Linked DNA regions of Homo sapiens: regions 2, 3 and 4 are each linked to region 1. The links are contacts of gene promoters, found by promoter capture Hi-C in blood cells and fetal thymus (Javierre and others, 2016). All regions are on one chromosome and are shown on one strand. Each heading gives the region's core, a stretch centred on a gene start or on the middle of the fragment in contact. The rest is flanking DNA. Distances are from core to core; before and after follow the strand shown.

The links. Contacts are between HindIII fragments. The CHiCAGO score rates a contact against its expected background, and 5 or more counts as called.
Region 2: a fragment that was not itself captured here is called in contact with the fragment with the promoter of ZNF586 in region 1 in 1 of 17 cell types (non-activated CD4 T cells); the score reaches 5.6 in non-activated CD4 T cells.
Region 3: a contact is called between a fragment that was not itself captured here and the fragment with the promoter of ZNF586 in region 1, in 5 of 17 cell types (naive CD4 T cells, total CD4 T cells, fetal thymus and 2 more). The highest score is 9.4, in naive CD4 T cells.
Region 4: a contact is called between a fragment that was not itself captured here and the fragment with the promoter of ZNF586 in region 1, in 14 of 17 cell types (naive CD4 T cells, total CD8 T cells, naive CD8 T cells and 11 more). The highest score is 15.9, in naive CD4 T cells.

Annotation. Positions count from the first base shown.
Region 1 is chr19:57,767,367-57,771,360 of GRCh38, forward strand. ZNF586 (zinc finger protein 586) reads left to right here and starts at 2,310. Exons shown (of 3, transcript NM_017652.4): 1 at 2,310-2,512. The coding sequence starts at 2,477. RefSeq lists enhancers at 2,034-2,573, 2,295-2,544. The HindIII fragment of the contact is 1,086 bases long and covers 2,228-3,313 here.
Region 2 is chr19:57,356,088-57,360,081 of GRCh38, forward strand. It overlaps ZNF304 (zinc finger protein 304), which reads left to right. Exons shown (of 3, transcript NM_020657.4): 3 at 1-3,811. The coding sequence ends at 1,762. Among named protein-coding and RNA genes, the nearest start is that of TRAPPC2B, 5.5 kb to the right of the region's middle. The HindIII fragment of the contact is 9,033 bases long and covers 1-3,994 here.
Region 3 is chr19:57,385,738-57,389,731 of GRCh38, forward strand. No RefSeq gene overlaps it. Among named protein-coding and RNA genes, the nearest start is that of ZNF548, 2.1 kb to the right of the region's middle. RefSeq lists enhancers at 3,675-3,754, 3,895-3,994. The HindIII fragment of the contact is 2,712 bases long and covers 946-3,657 here.
Region 4 is chr19:57,471,974-57,475,967 of GRCh38, forward strand. It overlaps ZNF772 (zinc finger protein 772), which reads right to left. Exons shown (of 4, transcript NM_001144068.2): 3 at 3,687-3,813; 4 at 1-2,448. The coding sequence ends at 1,301. Among named protein-coding and RNA genes, the nearest start is that of ZNF772, 3.6 kb to the right of the region's middle. The HindIII fragment of the contact is 6,834 bases long and covers 1-3,994 here.

The DNA of each region.
Region 1 (3,994 bases), core at 1,060-3,559:
TCCGCCCACCTCTGCCTCCCAAAGTCCTGGGATTACAGGCATGAGCCACCGCACCCGGCCAACTTTTTTGTTTGTTTGTTTGTTTGTTTGTTTGAGACGGAGTCTCGCTCTGTCCCCCAGCCTGGAGTGCAGTGGCGTGATCTCGGCTCACTGCAACCTCCGCCTCCCGGGTTCAAGCCATTCTCCTGCCTCAGGCTCCGGAGTAGCTGGGACTACAGGCGCCTGCCACCACGCCCAGCTAATTTTTTTGTATTTTTAGTAGAGACGGGGTTTCATCATATTAGCCAGGATGGTCTCGATCTCCTGACCTCGTGATCCGCCCGCCTCGGCCTCCCAAAGTGCTGGGATTACAGGTGTGAGCCACCGCGCCCAGCCAACTTTTTTTTTAAGTATAGAAAATTTTACAGGTTGGGCGCGGTGGCAGGCGCCTATAATCCCAGCTGCTCGGGGGGCTGAGACAGGAAAATCACTTGAACTTGGCCAAGAGGCGGAGGTTGCAGTGAGCCGAGATCGCAGCAATGCACTCCAGCCTGGGTGACAGAGCGAGACTCCATCTCAAAAAAAAAAAAAAAAAAAGAGGTGGAGATTTCCCAGAACTGAGGTTCCCTCCCCTTTTTAGACTATATAGGGTAACTTCCAAACATTGCCAGGGCATTGGTATACTGTCATGGCGCTGGCGGGAGTTAGTATGCTAATGCATTATAATTAGCGTATAATGAGCAGTGAGGATGACCACAGGTCACTTTCATCACCATCTTGGTTTTGGTGCGTTTTAGCCAGCTTCTTTACTGCATCCTGTTTTATCAGCAGGGTCTTTGTGACCTGCATCTTGTGCCAACCTCCTATCTCATCCTGTGACTAAGAATGCCTAACCTGGGAATGCAGCCGAGTATTTCTCAGCCTTACTTTATCCAGCCCATTTTCAAGATGGAGTCACTCTGATTCCAATGCCACTGACAATGATAAGCACTTGCCAGCAAAGAGGTGAACGCATGGATTTAAGGCACTTGAAATATCTCAGTGTAAAAGCACCCTGTGCATGTAGCAGGACGAGCCGCAGACAAAACCTCTCAGACACCGAGTTGCAGAAGGAAGGGCTTTATTCAGCTGGGAGCATTGGCCAGCTACTGTCTCAAAATCTGAGCTCCCGGAGTGCACAATTTCTGTCCCTTTTAAGGGCTCACAACACTAAAGATTTCACATGAAAGGGTCGTGATTGATTTGAGCAAGCAAGGGGTATGTGACAGGGGCTGCATGCACCGGTGGTCAGGGAGGAACAGAACAGGGCAGGGAGTTTCACAATGTTCTTCTATACAATCTAAGGAATCTATGAATAACATCGGCTTCTAAATCATAAGTTGATTTTTAACTACTGGGTTTAGGCCAGGCGGGCCTAGGCCTGGTTTCGGGCCTGGCGCGGGGTTGCCTGTCTTTGGTTTTACTTCCTTGTTGTTTTTACTGAATATAAAACAATGTGAGAGGGTCTCTCTCTTCTCTCATGCATACATACTCCATGTTTGAACACCGCAGCCATTGTCCTGTAACATAATAGCATTTGTCTCATTAGCTTTTTGATGTTGATATCAGATTTCTAGAGGAATCTGTAGGTTAAAGATATAAATAAAAGTGTTGCTAATGGGCTGAGAACGGTGGTTCACGCCTGTAATCCTAGCACTTCGGTAGACCATTGCAGGCAGATCACTTGAGGCCAGAAGTTCGAGACCAGCCTGGCCAAAATGAGGAAACCCCGTCTCTACTAAAAATACAAAAATTAGCAGGGTATGGTGGCACACGCCTGTAATCCCAGCTACTCGGATGGTTGAGGCACGAGAATCGCTTGAACCCGGGAGGCATAGGCTGCAGTGAGCCAAGATCACACCACTGCACCCCAGCCTGAGTGACAGAGAGAACTATGTCTTAAAAAAAAGACAAAAAAAAAAAAAAAAGGAAGAAGCCGAGCATCACAAATTCTGAAATAAGAAGTCTCCAAACACGCGGGCAATCAGTTGCACACAGTACCCCCAGAAATGTGCGTATGGCCTCTTCTAAGATGGGAGACCCTCCTCCGCATCTGGACCTGGAGTCGCCATTTCCTAGCGCCCCTCGCAGTGGAGCTTGCCCCTTTCTTCGGAAAGTCGGAAGAAAGCCACCTTAAGCGCTGCCCATGTCTGGGAACTACATTACCCAGAATCCGCCCTGCGAAATGGTAACGTGGCTGAGCCAATGAAGCTTCAGAGAAGCCGTGCCATTGCCGGGGCACGTAAAGTCAAGCCAGGACTTCCGGCGTCCTAGCCGTGGCAGCCATTTTGGCCTGTCAGGTCCATCCGGCGATGCTGGGTCTGGACGAGCTCGGGAGGAGTGGTTGTGGCCATTGCACACAGGCGGATCTGAGGTTCGGCGACGCCGCTGGTCGCGACCCGGGACAGGACAACGACAGGAACACCGCCGAGCCCGCGTTCCCCCCCCGCCCAGAGTCATGGCGGCAGCAGCCGCTCTGAGGGCGCCTGCTCAGGTGAGCGCTGCGACCTCCGGGCCTTACCCACCCTACCCACCCAGACCCTGAGGCCCCTGATCGTGAGGGCCGCCTCCTCGCGTCCCTGCAGCCCAGGCCTCTGTCAGGGACGGAGAGGCGCCGGCGGGTGGGATCCCTGTTTCCGACACCCAGTTGATGCGGTCGGCAGAGCGAGACTGGCGGAGGGCAAAGGCCTGCAGGCGCGACTGAGGCAGGAGGATGCGGAACACGGGGACATCGTGTGTCTACTGGGAAAGAAGTGTGATACGGAGTTATTTCTTTTTTTTTTTTTTTTTGAGACGGAGTCTCACTCTGTCGCCCAGGCTGGAGTGCAGTGGCGCGATCTCGGCTCACTGCAAGCTCCACCTCCCCGGTTCAAGCGATTCTCCTGCCTCAGCCTCCCGAGTAGCTGGGATTACAGGCATGCGCCACCACGGGGTTTCACCATGTTGGCTAGGCTGGCCTCGAACTCCTGACCTTAGGTGATCCGCCCACCTCGGCCTCCCAAAGTGCTGGGAATACAGGCGTGAGCCACCGCGCCTGGCCGAGGCGGAGTTGTTTCTTCAGTACCAGGCTGAGGGTTGAACTTTGACTGTGAGGACGCTAAAAGCCATGGACAGTTTTGAACAAAGGAGGAAATCTGTGTTAGAGTTGCGATTCCCAAAAGATGTTCGAAGGAAGAACAGAGTTGAAGGCAGTGATGAGGACATTGAGAGGTTGAATCATTGAGAGGTGACATTGAGCACTGGGCCACAAGATTAGAGACTCAGTCTGAAGTCATCTGGCTGCAGGGCCAAAAAAAGCTTACAGAGAAGCCTGAGTCTATCAAATCCGAGCACAGACACATTTGTGAAAGCCCTGCCTTTTGGCACACCTCATGGCTACAGAAGCACTTACAGAATCCACAGTAGGAAGTAGGGGATGCTCTAGTCCTTCACTGGTCCTCATCCTATCCCACATGTCTAGATCTTGGCATCTTTTTTTTTTTTCGGCGACGGGTTCTCACTCAACACCCAGGCTGGGTTGCGGTGACGCGATCACGGCGCAGCACGGCCTCGACCTCTCCGGGCTCAGGAGAGCCTCTCATCTCAGTCTCCCGAGTAACTGGCTTTTTGTATTTTTAGTAGAGGTGGGGTTTCACGGCCGGGCGCGGTGGCTCACGCCTGTAATCCTAGCACTTTGGGAGGCCGAGGCGGGCGGATCACGAGGTCAGGAGTTTGAGACCATCCTGGCTAACACGGTGAAATCCCCCCTCTACTAAAAATACAAAAAATTAGCCAGGCCTGGTGGCACACACCTGTAGTCCCAACTACTTGGGAGGCTGAGGCAGGAGAATCGCTTGAACCCGGGAGGCAGAGGTTGCAGTGAGCCGAGATCGCGCCACTGCACTCCAGCCTGGGCGACAGAGAAAGACTCCGTCTGAAAAAAAAAAAAAAAAGAGAGAGAGAGAGATGGGGTTTCGCCATGTTGCCCAGGCTAGTC
Region 2 (3,994 bases), core at 1,079-3,578, 410 kb before region 1:
AGTGTCACAGGTCAGGACTGCTGAGTCAGGTCTTTTCCAGAAAGCACACCCATGTGAGATGTGTGACCCACTCTTGAAAGACATTTTGCACCTGGCTGAACACCAGGGATCACACCTTACACAGAAACTGTGCACACGTGGGCTGTGTAGGAGAAGATTCTCGTTCAGTGCAAACTTTTACCAGCACCAGAAGCAACATAATGGAGAGAATTGCTTCAGAGGGGATGATGGAGGGGCCTCATTTGTGAAGAGCTGTACAGTCCACATGTTAGGGAGATCCTTTACGTGCAGGGAGGAAGGGATGGACTTACCAGATAGCTCTGGCCTTTTCCAGCACCAGACCACTTACAATAGGGTGAGTCCATGCAGAAGGACTGAATGCATGGAGTCTTTCCCACACAGCTCCAGTCTCAGGCAACACCAAGGAGACTATGATGGACAGATGCTTTTCAGTTGCGGTGATGAAGGGAAAGCCTTCCTGGACACCTTTACTCTTCTTGACAGCCAGATGACTCATGCTGAGGTGAGACCCTTCAGATGCCTACCATGTGGAAATGTGTTCAAGGAGAAATCAGCTCTTATTAATCACAGAAAAATCCACAGTGGAGAAATATCTCATGTGTGTAAGGAGTGTGGAAAAGCCTTCATTCACTTGCACCACCTAAAAATGCACCAGAAATTTCACACTGGAAAAAGACACTATACATGCAGTGAATGTGGGAAGGCCTTCAGCCGCAAGGACACACTTGTTCAGCATCAGAGAGTTCACACTGGAGAAAGATCTTATGACTGCAGTGAATGTGGAAAAGCCTACAGCAGAAGCTCCCACCTTGTTCAGCACCAGAGAATTCACACAGGAGAAAGGCCTTATAAGTGCAACAAATGTGGGAAAGCCTTTAGCCGTAAAGACACACTTGTTCAGCACCAGAGATTTCATACTGGAGAAAGGCCTTATGAGTGCAGTGAATGTGGAAAATTCTTTAGCCAAAGCTCCCACCTTATTGAGCACTGGAGAATTCATACCGGGGCAAGGCCCTATGAATGCATAGAATGTGGAAAATTCTTTAGCCATAACTCTAGCCTCATTAAACATCGGAGAGTCCACACAGGAGCAAGATCCTACGTGTGCAGCAAATGTGGGAAGGCCTTTGGCTGCAAAGACACACTTGTTCAGCACCAGATAATTCACACTGGAGCAAGGCCTTATGAGTGCAGTGAATGTGGGAAGGCCTTCAGCCGTAAAGACACACTTGTGCAACACCAAAAAATCCACACTGGAGAAAGGCCTTATGAGTGTGGTGAATGTGGTAAATTCTTCAGCCATAGCTCCAACCTTATTGTACACCAGAGAATTCACACTGGAGCAAAGCCTTATGAGTGCAATGAATGTGGGAAATGCTTTAGCCACAACTCCAGCCTCATTTTGCACCAGAGAGTTCACACAGGAGCAAGGCCTTATGTGTGCAGTGAATGTGGGAAGGCTTACATTAGTAGCTCCCACCTTGTTCAACACAAGAAAGTTCACACTGGAGCAAGACCTTATGAGTGCAGTGAATGTGGGAAATTCTTTAGCCGCAACTCTGGCCTCATTCTGCACCAGAGGGTTCACACTGGAGAAAAGCCTTACGTATGCAGCGAATGTGGGAAAGCCTATAGCAGAAGCTCCCATCTTGTTCGTCACCAGAAAGCTCACACTGGAGAAAGAGCTCACGAGTGCAACAGTTTTGGTGGCCCTTTAGCTGCATCTCTTAAACTTGTTTAACACCAGAAAATTCACACAAGAGAAAGGCCTTATGAATGCAGAAAATATGTCATCTTGTTCATCCTCATAGGACTCACACCAGAGCAATGCTCTGTGAGTACCCTTTGTGAGGGAACCATCAGCTAGCAGATGAGCACCGTATATTCATTCCACCCTGGGGAGATTCCTGATAAGCACCACATATGTGGGAGGCTTTCATGAGGTGTGTTGCACTTTGTAACTGTCTAGAGCTCTTGATGGAATTATATCACTGCCAGTGCCTGTGGCGGAAGCCATCTTATTGCTACCAGCTGTGTGTGTCAATCACTCCATTTTGCTCAGGGAAGGCAGACTTCTGTGCTTTCTTTCCTGTTCCCTACAGGTAATCATGAATATTTTCAAGGACTTCCCCCCCCCCCCACTTCACCCCCTACCATTGAGGGTCCTCATCTTTTCCCTCATGATTAGGTTCTGAGCAAACATGATCTAGCTCTCACCAAAAGGACCTGAGCTAGGGTCTGCTGGGATTTCCTGACACGATTTTCCATCTTCATGGACAATGTTAACTGTAAACGTGATAGCTGTGACTTACTTGTCTTACTGCCAAATCGCCCAAATTTGGAACTGCTTGTCCCATGCTGCTCTGATTTATACAGTGATAAGGGCCTATTGTGGCAGTCTTTACTCTTGGGGATTTTGTTACTGTGTAGAGTGGATTGAGAAAAGAATTGGGTTCTGTCATGAAGGGAGTAGCACCTTTTGTGGGCACCACCTTTATGTGCCTCAGAGGGGACCAAAGGATGGCAGAAAACTGTTCTCAGTCTAGTTTGACCTAATTTACACTATTGCCCTAGGCTTGCTAGGAAAGACTGAAAAAATTTTTGTGCCTAACTTTGTGGCCTGGCTGCCAGGATTTCCTGTGAGCCCAGTGAGGAGGGCATAGTTGGTGCGAAAATCTCCTGTGCTTGTGGAAGCAACATAAGTTGGGTCCCTTAACTGTCACGTACTCCCCAGCACTGTTGAGGGATTGCTGTCTTCTGTACCTGTACAGGATCAAGTCCCTGATATCCAGAACCCCATAGGCAAGTAACATTGACTGTAAGACCTCTGTAGGGCAATGTGAAAATCATGATTGCTACAGAAGCACTGAGATAATGGAGTGGGGATGACTGTGGCAAACAAAAGGAGATTCGAACATTCTAGAGGGGCATCCACAAGTCTCGGTGCAGTTATGATGGTGTGGGATGGGAGTGCATAGAAATTCTCAGGACCTTCAGACATCTGTATCTCCTGTGGCCAAGGCCACTGTCAGAGGAAATAATCTAAATGTTTGTGGATTCCTGTGTCTCCCTGGGCAGTTGACCTGCACAGACAGGAACCTCAGCAGTGACAGAAGAGAGATCCAGGGATGGGTCTTCTCTGACCCAGCCAGCATTCCGAGTGACTGAGGTGGATGTGGACATCATTGCTTACCAATTTTTACCAACATTGAGGCAGGGCTCACTCTCCTAAATTGTAGGGAGAGGAATATGGTAAAGCCAAAATAGTTGACAGATCTAACTTTCCTAGTGGAACAGTATATATAGATTTTAATGAGGAACATTTATTTAATAGCTTTATGGAGGTATGATTAACATGCAATAAACTGCAAATATGTAAAGTGTAAAATGTGCTGTTTCAGCATGTGTGTACACCTATGAAACCACCACAGTCAAGATATCCAACACAACAAAAGATTGTCCCTTTATAATCCTCAATTTTTCCTTATCTTGTTTTCCACAATTCACAAGCAACAGCAAGCATTTTCTATAATTTTATAAATGAAACCATATGGTGTGTACTTTTTAGGGGGTGGGGCTCTGGCTTTTTCAGTAAACATAACTATTTTAAGGTTAATCCATTATCTTGTTGCATGAATCAATTGTTTGCTCATTTGTATTGCTGCGTAGTATTTCAGTATTTCATTGTATACCACAATTTTTCTTCTTTGTCAACTTAATTGTTATGGATGTTTGGGTAACTTTCAGTTTTTGGCTATTACAAATAAACCTCTGAAGATTTGTGTGCAAATTATGGCTGAATGATATTCCATTCTATAAATACACCTCAGTTTCTTTATCCATTTACTTATTGAAGGACGGTTGCTTTCAAGTTTTGGCAGTTATGAATAAACCTACTACATATTTGTATAGTTTTTCTGTGGAGATGTTTTCAACTCATTTGGATATGTGCCAAGGAGTGCAATTTTCTCTG
Region 3 (3,994 bases), core at 1,052-3,551, 380 kb before region 1:
GCCACTGCACTCCAGCTGGGTGACAGAGTGAAACTGTATCTTAAAAAAAAAAAAGAAAAGAAAGAAAAAAGAAAACACTGGAGAAAACGTTGGATTTTACAATGTATGTCTGGGTCAGTTAGTCTACCATTTCATATCCAAACTCATAACTAATTACAAACAGATGGAACCATTGAAAGCTTGCAAACTTTTAAATTATATTCATATAATTAAAATATAAGTAATAATTTATATTCAATTAAGAATAAATGGGGCCAGGCGTGGTGGCTCATGCCTGTAATCCCAGCACTTTGGGAGGCCGAGGCAGGCGGATCATGAGGTCAAGAGATCGAGACCATCCTGGCCAACATGGTGAAATCCCGTCTCTACTAAAAATACAAAAAAATTAACTGGGCGTGGTGGCGTGCATATGTAGTTCCAGCTACTTGAGAGTCTGAGGCAGGAGAATCACTTGAACCGGAGAGGCGGAGGTTGCAGTGAGCCGAGATCACACCACTGCACTCCAGCCCAGCGACAGAGTGAGACTCCGTCTCAAAAAAAAAAAAAAGAATAAATAGATTTTGATATCTCAAGGGAAAAAAAGTGATATTCCTATTTGTCTGCAGGGCAGAGCTGTAGTGGTCAGGCAGTCTCCTCAAACAAAGCCAAAACTGCTATTATATGAGCTTTTAGGAAGGCTGGCCTTCAGGGACTGAGGACTTTCAGAAGCAGCAGAGTTGAAAGACTGATGGACTTTCAGGTATGTTAGTGTAAATGCAACCATTTACCAACTGGCTTTCATAAACAGGATTACTGACAGGAGGCACTTGTGGATTAGTTGTTGCCAGCAGCCTGGGGCTGCCACTGATTGACCATCTTTAGTACTGGGCCTTACCCCCATTGGAAAAATTTTAGAATCTTGGCCTAACAATGATTTGCTAAGTTTCTGGTTAATTACTGGGGTGAAGCTTTTGCTGACTAGCTGACTTTTAAAGCATAGGTACACATCCCAAGTTATCTCTAATTAATGGTGGTTTCTTGTTTATGATTATGGATTTGGGGCAGAGATAAATTTTTTCCTTACTTGAACATAAGCCAGCAACTTAATTCTCATTCCCCATTTTTGGTTTCCCAACAGCCAGAATTTGTAAGAAATCATATGCTATGGTTTGGATGTTTGTCTCTTCCAAAGCTCATGTTGAAATTTAATTTCCAATGTTTGAGGTGGGGCCTAATAGGAGGTGTTCTGGTCATGAGGGTAGATCCTACCTGAATACCCCCACTTGAAGATGTGTAAATTCTCACTCTATTAGTTCCCAAGAAAGCTGGTTGTTGAAAAGAGCCTGATACACTCCCCACCCACTGTCCTCCTCTCTTGCAATATGATTCCTTCGCATTATAGCTCTCTTTCGTTTTCCACCATGAATAGAACCCGCCGAAGACCCTCACCAGATGCAGATGCCCAATTTTAAACTTTCCACACATCAACATTTTGAGCCAAATAAACATTTTTTTCTTTATAAATTACCAGCTTCAGGTATTCATTTATAGCAACGCTAACTGGACTAAGACATCATAAGTATTATCTAGATATTTGTTTGTGAGGATATGATTTTCAACTCATGTTGCCAATGAGTAATTTAACGGCCAGTTACAGTCTGAGAAAAATGTGTCTCCCACTGGTGATTCTTTGTAATATATTACAACCAGCTGATATGTAGGATATGTAGGCCATTCTGATAAGTCAATACAGGATTCAGGAAAAATCGTTATATATAGGTCATATTCTTAAACTGTGCCCAGGTCTTAATTAATAATTAGCAATGACACAGAGGGGACACTGCCATCAAAAGAAAAGATTAATGTTACAGTTCCCTGGAAATAAGAGGCACTGAACACCACACAGGCCACAAGAAACCTTATTACATACAGAGACTGGAAAGCAGAAAGAGAAAACAGAGTAACTGGAAGTATGTCTTTATAACTAAAGTGGCAGAGAATGATGAGGTAGAGATACCGTCGATGGGCAGGAAGGAAAAACACATTTTAGTGTTTGTGGTTGGGGGGTTTTATATGAGTTTCATGCACTTGAGTAAGTGGCTTGCAAGAAAAAAAGTAAACAACTTTGGTTCTATTAGTTTGACCCTGTGATTAATGAATATCAAACAGACAAATACAGAATCTAAGAAAACATAGAACAGTCCTGTATACACATAGCAGCTGGGAAACCTATTCCCAGTGTGTCCCATGCACCTATCATTGATCTGAAACCCAATACATATGTGCTCATTGAACATTTACTAGAGAAGTAAATACACATTATCACACAGCTTCTCTATTCATTTTTATCTGTGGCAAGTCTTTCAGTTTATCATCTGTACTTACCCCTCTAAGCAGTTAATGAGCAATGTTTTCAAGTGTGTAAAAAAATTACATTTTGGAAACAAAAGCATAGTGTGTCCAAGTGTCCAGCAGAGCCACAGGTTCAACTTCATTCTCTGACTTCTCAGAATTTGCTGTCTCTCACTCAAACATTGAGATCTTATCTTTTTCTCACATTACAGATCGATTTCTCTAGGGCTTCTGGTTTTTTTTCTTTTGGAATAACCTACATAATTACTAATAGATTTCGGTAATTTTTTTATTTCACAAGTGTTTTTCACATTTCGACTCCCTGTGCAAATACAGTTGTAAACACAGGTGAAATTTTAAATCACTTCTGAGGAAGAAGATAACATCATGGAATTCCACACCTTTTTTGAGGATAAGATGTGCATATGCTTCAACTATGAAAACGGTAGACAATGTTGTCCAGAAATGGCATGTATCAGCTGCTCTTGAGAAATAAAAATAAAATTCTAAGCACCCCCTAACTGACTGAATGGATGCCCTCTTGACCATGAGAACCCTAGAATAACTTTGGAAGCTGAATTCACCACTATAGAGGAACGGGAAATCAGACACACCTCATTATATCCCCTACCACACTACAATCATTAGGTTTTCTTCCCTAAGGGCTAAATAGAAATCAACCTTTTCAGAAGACTACTAGCTTATCTTCCAAGGTACAGAACAGAGAGAAGATGAGATTATTCATTCCTTCATCCTTCTCTGAGACATCTTCTTTATTCCCTTTTCCCCTCACGTGTTTACTCTATCTTATGTAAAATGTAGATTTACTGGGCACTAACTAAAGTTTCACATGTCTGTAATCATTTGTCTCACTGCCAACCCCTCTTCCTTTTTAAGGAAAATGTATAATAAATACTAAACCTCCTAAGAACCTCTTTGGAAAAACCAGCCACAGATGCTTCTGTGACTTACATTTTTCTGGATGTGCCCTTAGGCTGGTCCAGTAATCCTCCATGATTTGTGACTTATGCCTCAATCACTCATTTTGGTCGTCACTCTCATTTTCAGATAGGATTGTGATTCTTAAAATAAATGGAAAATATCTCAGATATGAAGTAGTAAGTATTATTAGAATAAAAGCGTTGCACCCTTCGTAGGAACACAATCGCTGACTCTACAGTCAGGTAAGATGTATTCTCTTTGATCCAGAGGCATAGCTTCACCCTTTCAACCTACTTCAGCGTCTCCTGTCATCCTTCCTACAAATTCCAGTCCATAGCCCTAACTGCGTAGTCTTTCTTTCTTCTTCTGGACCAAACATATTGAAGCTTACTAAACAGACGCCAAAGCGTAACTGTATGTGTATTTGAAAAGCAATAATATGGCTGGCAGGCATGAGTAGAGGCAGACTGCCTTTATGGTATGGGGTGTCTCTTTGGACCTGTAGTTATTGGGAATTAGCTGTGCTTAATAGAGTCTTAAGTAATAAGTTGCTAACATTTCTGTAAATATCCTATACTACAATCCAAAAAAATACCGTATGTTGCCTTTAAGAGCAAGCCAAGCCCCCTCCTGTCTTTGGAGTCGGGGACTCCGTTTCCCAGCTCCCCTGACAGTGCCACTGGGCCTTTATCTGCCATATAAGGACTGATCAACGCTCTAA
Region 4 (3,994 bases), core at 581-3,080, 300 kb before region 1:
GCCAACATGTATCAAAACTTATCAAATGGTACACTATAAATATGTGCAGTTTATTGCAAAAATGTTTAGACTGACTTCTGGACAGTAACCTTAGCCATAAGAGACACAGGTATGGAAATATTTCTGTAAACCCTCATAATGGAGCCAGAGTAATGGAAACACATGTGGATGTACCTTTAGAAGGGTCATATTCCCTATAGTTTGCTGCAGTTTTCTCATTCCTTTATTAATCTGGGTTTCTGCACCAACTATGATTCCTACCTGGGCCTTCTGGAGGACAGCCAATATCAACTGCCTACTGAAAAATAGACTTCAGAGATCTTGACATGTCCACTGAGTTCAAATTCTCCTCAAGAAGCCTTGGGAATATGAAGTATCTTCTGGGAACAAGGGACGTAATTCATGTTGCTCCCAGACACATTAGAGATTATCACAACAAATGCCCACTGCTTAGGGTGACCTCAATTACACAAAAAATCTTAACATATAGACCAAAAGATTAGGCCTACAAAGACTGGCATTCTTTCCTAGGAGAGCTGAAGCAGTCAAGTAAGTTAGCTTGACACTAGCATAAGAGCTAGTCTTTGCCATCCTACTATCACTTCAGAGATACAGATAGTTGGAGCTCTCACAAAAGCTGTTCTTCCCTTCATACTGGCTTAGCTCAATTCTGTTCTCAACCCAACCCACAAAGCGAACAGAATCCTCAAGATTTCAGATAGTCTAAAAATTAAGGCATTTGTTGCAAAACCAGAATATGAGGCAGCCAATTTCAGGTCAGGTGTCTTGAAGGCTAGAAAAATTCGTCCCAAGTGCCATGTGAGATCAACTATATCCATGAAGGGAAACCTCTGCCAGTGGTCAGCAGAACAAAGCTCCCATTTTTCTGGCTAAAACTGGGTCATGCTCATGCTTAAACCAGTAGTGGGGCAGAAAAAAAGTGAGAATCCTTGATGGCCTCAGGCTACTGATGATTCCCTCCAGGGAAGGGAATAGTACAGAGGTCTGTCTTTTGAAACACATTGGGGTTACTTTGGCACAAGGCAGGACTCTTCCAGCACAAAGACAGATGGCTTCTAACAGGCACTGCCTTGACGAAATTCCAGCAAGAGTCTAGAAAATTCAGCATAGCTCCAGAAGGCTTCCCATATAGCTGGCACTCGGAAGAACCTCCCCAGGGTGAGTGTTTGAGTGTATAAAGTTCTACTTCTGGCTGTCGGCTACACATAAAGGCTATGCTTGGAGCTTCTCTCTGATGTCAGTTATTATGTTGAACAAGGAAACGGAATTATCTCCCATCCTAAGGCCTTTCTCCAGTGTGAATTTTCCAGTGGCGGATGAGGGAAGCCCTCTGCCTGAAGGCCTTCCCACATTCACTGCACTTATATGGCCTTTCTCCAGTGTGAATTCTATGATGCTGAACAAGTACATGTTTGTGGCTAAAGGCTTTTCCACATTCACTGCACACATAAGGCTTTTCACCATTATGAACTCTTTGATGTGCAATAAGGTCAGAGCTTTGGCTAAAGAACTTCCCACATGCGATGCACTCATAAGGCCTTGCTCCAGTATGAACACTCCAATGTTTAATGAGTCTGTATTTGTGACCAAAGTATTTTCCACATTCGCTGCACTCATATGGCCTTTCTCCAGTATGGATACTCTCATGCTGAACAAGTGTAGATTTGTGACTATAGGCTTTCCCACATTCACTGCACTTGTAAGGCCTTGCTCCAGTGTGTACTCTTTGATGTACAATAAGGTTAGAGCTATGATTAAAAACTTTCCCACATATGCCACACTCATAAGGCATTTCTCCAGTGTGGATTCTCTGGTGCTGAGCAAGTATGGGTTTGCGGCTAAAGGTTTTCCCACATTCACCGCACTCATAAGGCCTTTCTCCAGTGTGGACTCTCTGGTGTTGAACAAGTGAGTCTTTGCGGCTGAAGGTTTTCCCACATTCACTGCATTTGTAATGCCTTTTTCCACAGTGAGAGGCCTCCTCACACTTGGTGTTGCTGTGTGGCTTCCACTCATTGTGAGGGGCATGGTGCTCGAAAATGCTTGAGCTGGCTAGGAAGTCCTTACAAGCCTCCCCTGTCACAAAAGACATCTCCATTGATTGCACAGCACAGTTGTTCAGAAGAAAGGGCCTGCTCTTATCACTTCTAAAGGGTTTCTCTCCACTGTGCTGCTTCTGGTGCTGGTGAAGGTTTGCACTGAAGCAGAACTGTTTCCCACACAGCACACACATGTATGGTTTCTGCCCTGGGTGTGTTTCCTGGTGCTCAGCCAAGTGCAAAATGTCTTTTAAGACCAGGCCACATGTCCCACAGGGGTAAGCCTTCTGAGTAGAAGGACCTCCCTTGGGAATCCTGATCTGTGACATTCCTATAGAAAAGCTCTGCTCAAAAGGTATCTCTTCATCCTCCATTCCATGCCAACAACCTGAAAGCAGAGAAATGCTGGTGAAGTACAAATTGACACAGGTGGAAGAGGGGAAGCCTCACTACAAATATGTGTCTAACACAACTAAGACCAAGGTCATAGGACTGTTGTTAGGACAAGGGTCCAAACTCAAGTTCAGCAAATGTGTACTATACGGTAGTTGGCATCTAAATGTCATAGAATGGAGAAGGCCTCAACTGGGAGAGGACAAAGATGTGGGGTACAGCACAAAAAAGAGGCAGGTCTCAAAGTCATTCACAATCAGATTTTCTTGGCTGCTGGGGACAGGTGAGAGTTGTGCAGAAGGTTATGGTCCATACCAAAGAAAATCAAATTGCTACTCAGTAGTTGGTGTTTAAGGACTATTTGGGCTACACATCTCATGAAACACTAAGTACAGGCCAATGCTGGAAGGCACTGTAGAACAAGCCATGGAGAGGAACAGGTGAGACATGAAGGCAGAGGTATGGAACATCCAGAGGCCAAAGGCCAGAGTATGAAAGGCCAGTGGCCTTAGCACTAATACAACTGTAGGCACAAAGAGGCTATGGAATGATATGAACCCAGCCCTGACATCACACCTTTCCCCAGCTCCTACTCACCAGGGTCACTCCCACCTGGAGTCTCTGTGGCAACAGCTAGGGTCATGTCCACCCAGTCAGGTACCCAGGGCTCACTACCCATCACCAGTGAGGCAACTATGTGGGACATGAAAGATGTATGTCCTAAGGGAAAGATAGAACAGCACTGGTCTGGGTAACCCATATAGAAAACTAAATATTATTAAAATAATCTCAGAGTAAGGTCTTGCAGGAATAGTGCAGTGGTCCTAGCAAGTAGCGACCATAATGGTCCCTACAATTCCTGACATAGGCAGGCCACAGGAAATGTCAGCTAAAGGAAGAGCGCAGAATCCCAGGCACAGAGGTGTCATGGATACAGACAGAGGAATTCAGACAGGGAAAGGACAAGATGGATATGACCCACTGGGCTGACAATACAATGCATAACTCCTGAATCCATGCCTGCAAGGCTCTGAGACAGCAAGCGCTGGGAATGCTCAAAAGGAGAAAGTAGGAGTGCAAACAGCCCAAGCCCAGCACTCACAGAACCTACTCCAGGCACTAAGAAATGAGACAGTGTCCACGGCTCTGATGTAGGAAGGACAAAGATGCCCTGAAAAAAAGGGGAAGGGCAGGACCCAGTCCAAGTCACTGGGGTGGATGTGACGGCCTTACCCAGAGAGGCCATAAGTGCAAAGTTCTCCAGCATCACATCACGGTACAGGAGCCTCTGAGCCTCATCAAGGAGCACCCACTCCTCCTGGGAGAAGTACACGAACACGTCCTCAAAGTTCACCTGCCCCTGCCACAATCAGGAGAGCCAAGTCCATGAGCAGCATCTCTCCCAAGAACCCCCATCCGTGCCCCCACACATCTCCCTCCTGTACACCCTCCTACCTAACTCCTCAACTCAGGAAATATCAGGACCAGATGTCATTGGTGTCTTCTCTCGCCTCATGGTCCCAATGGATCACTGTGTCTAC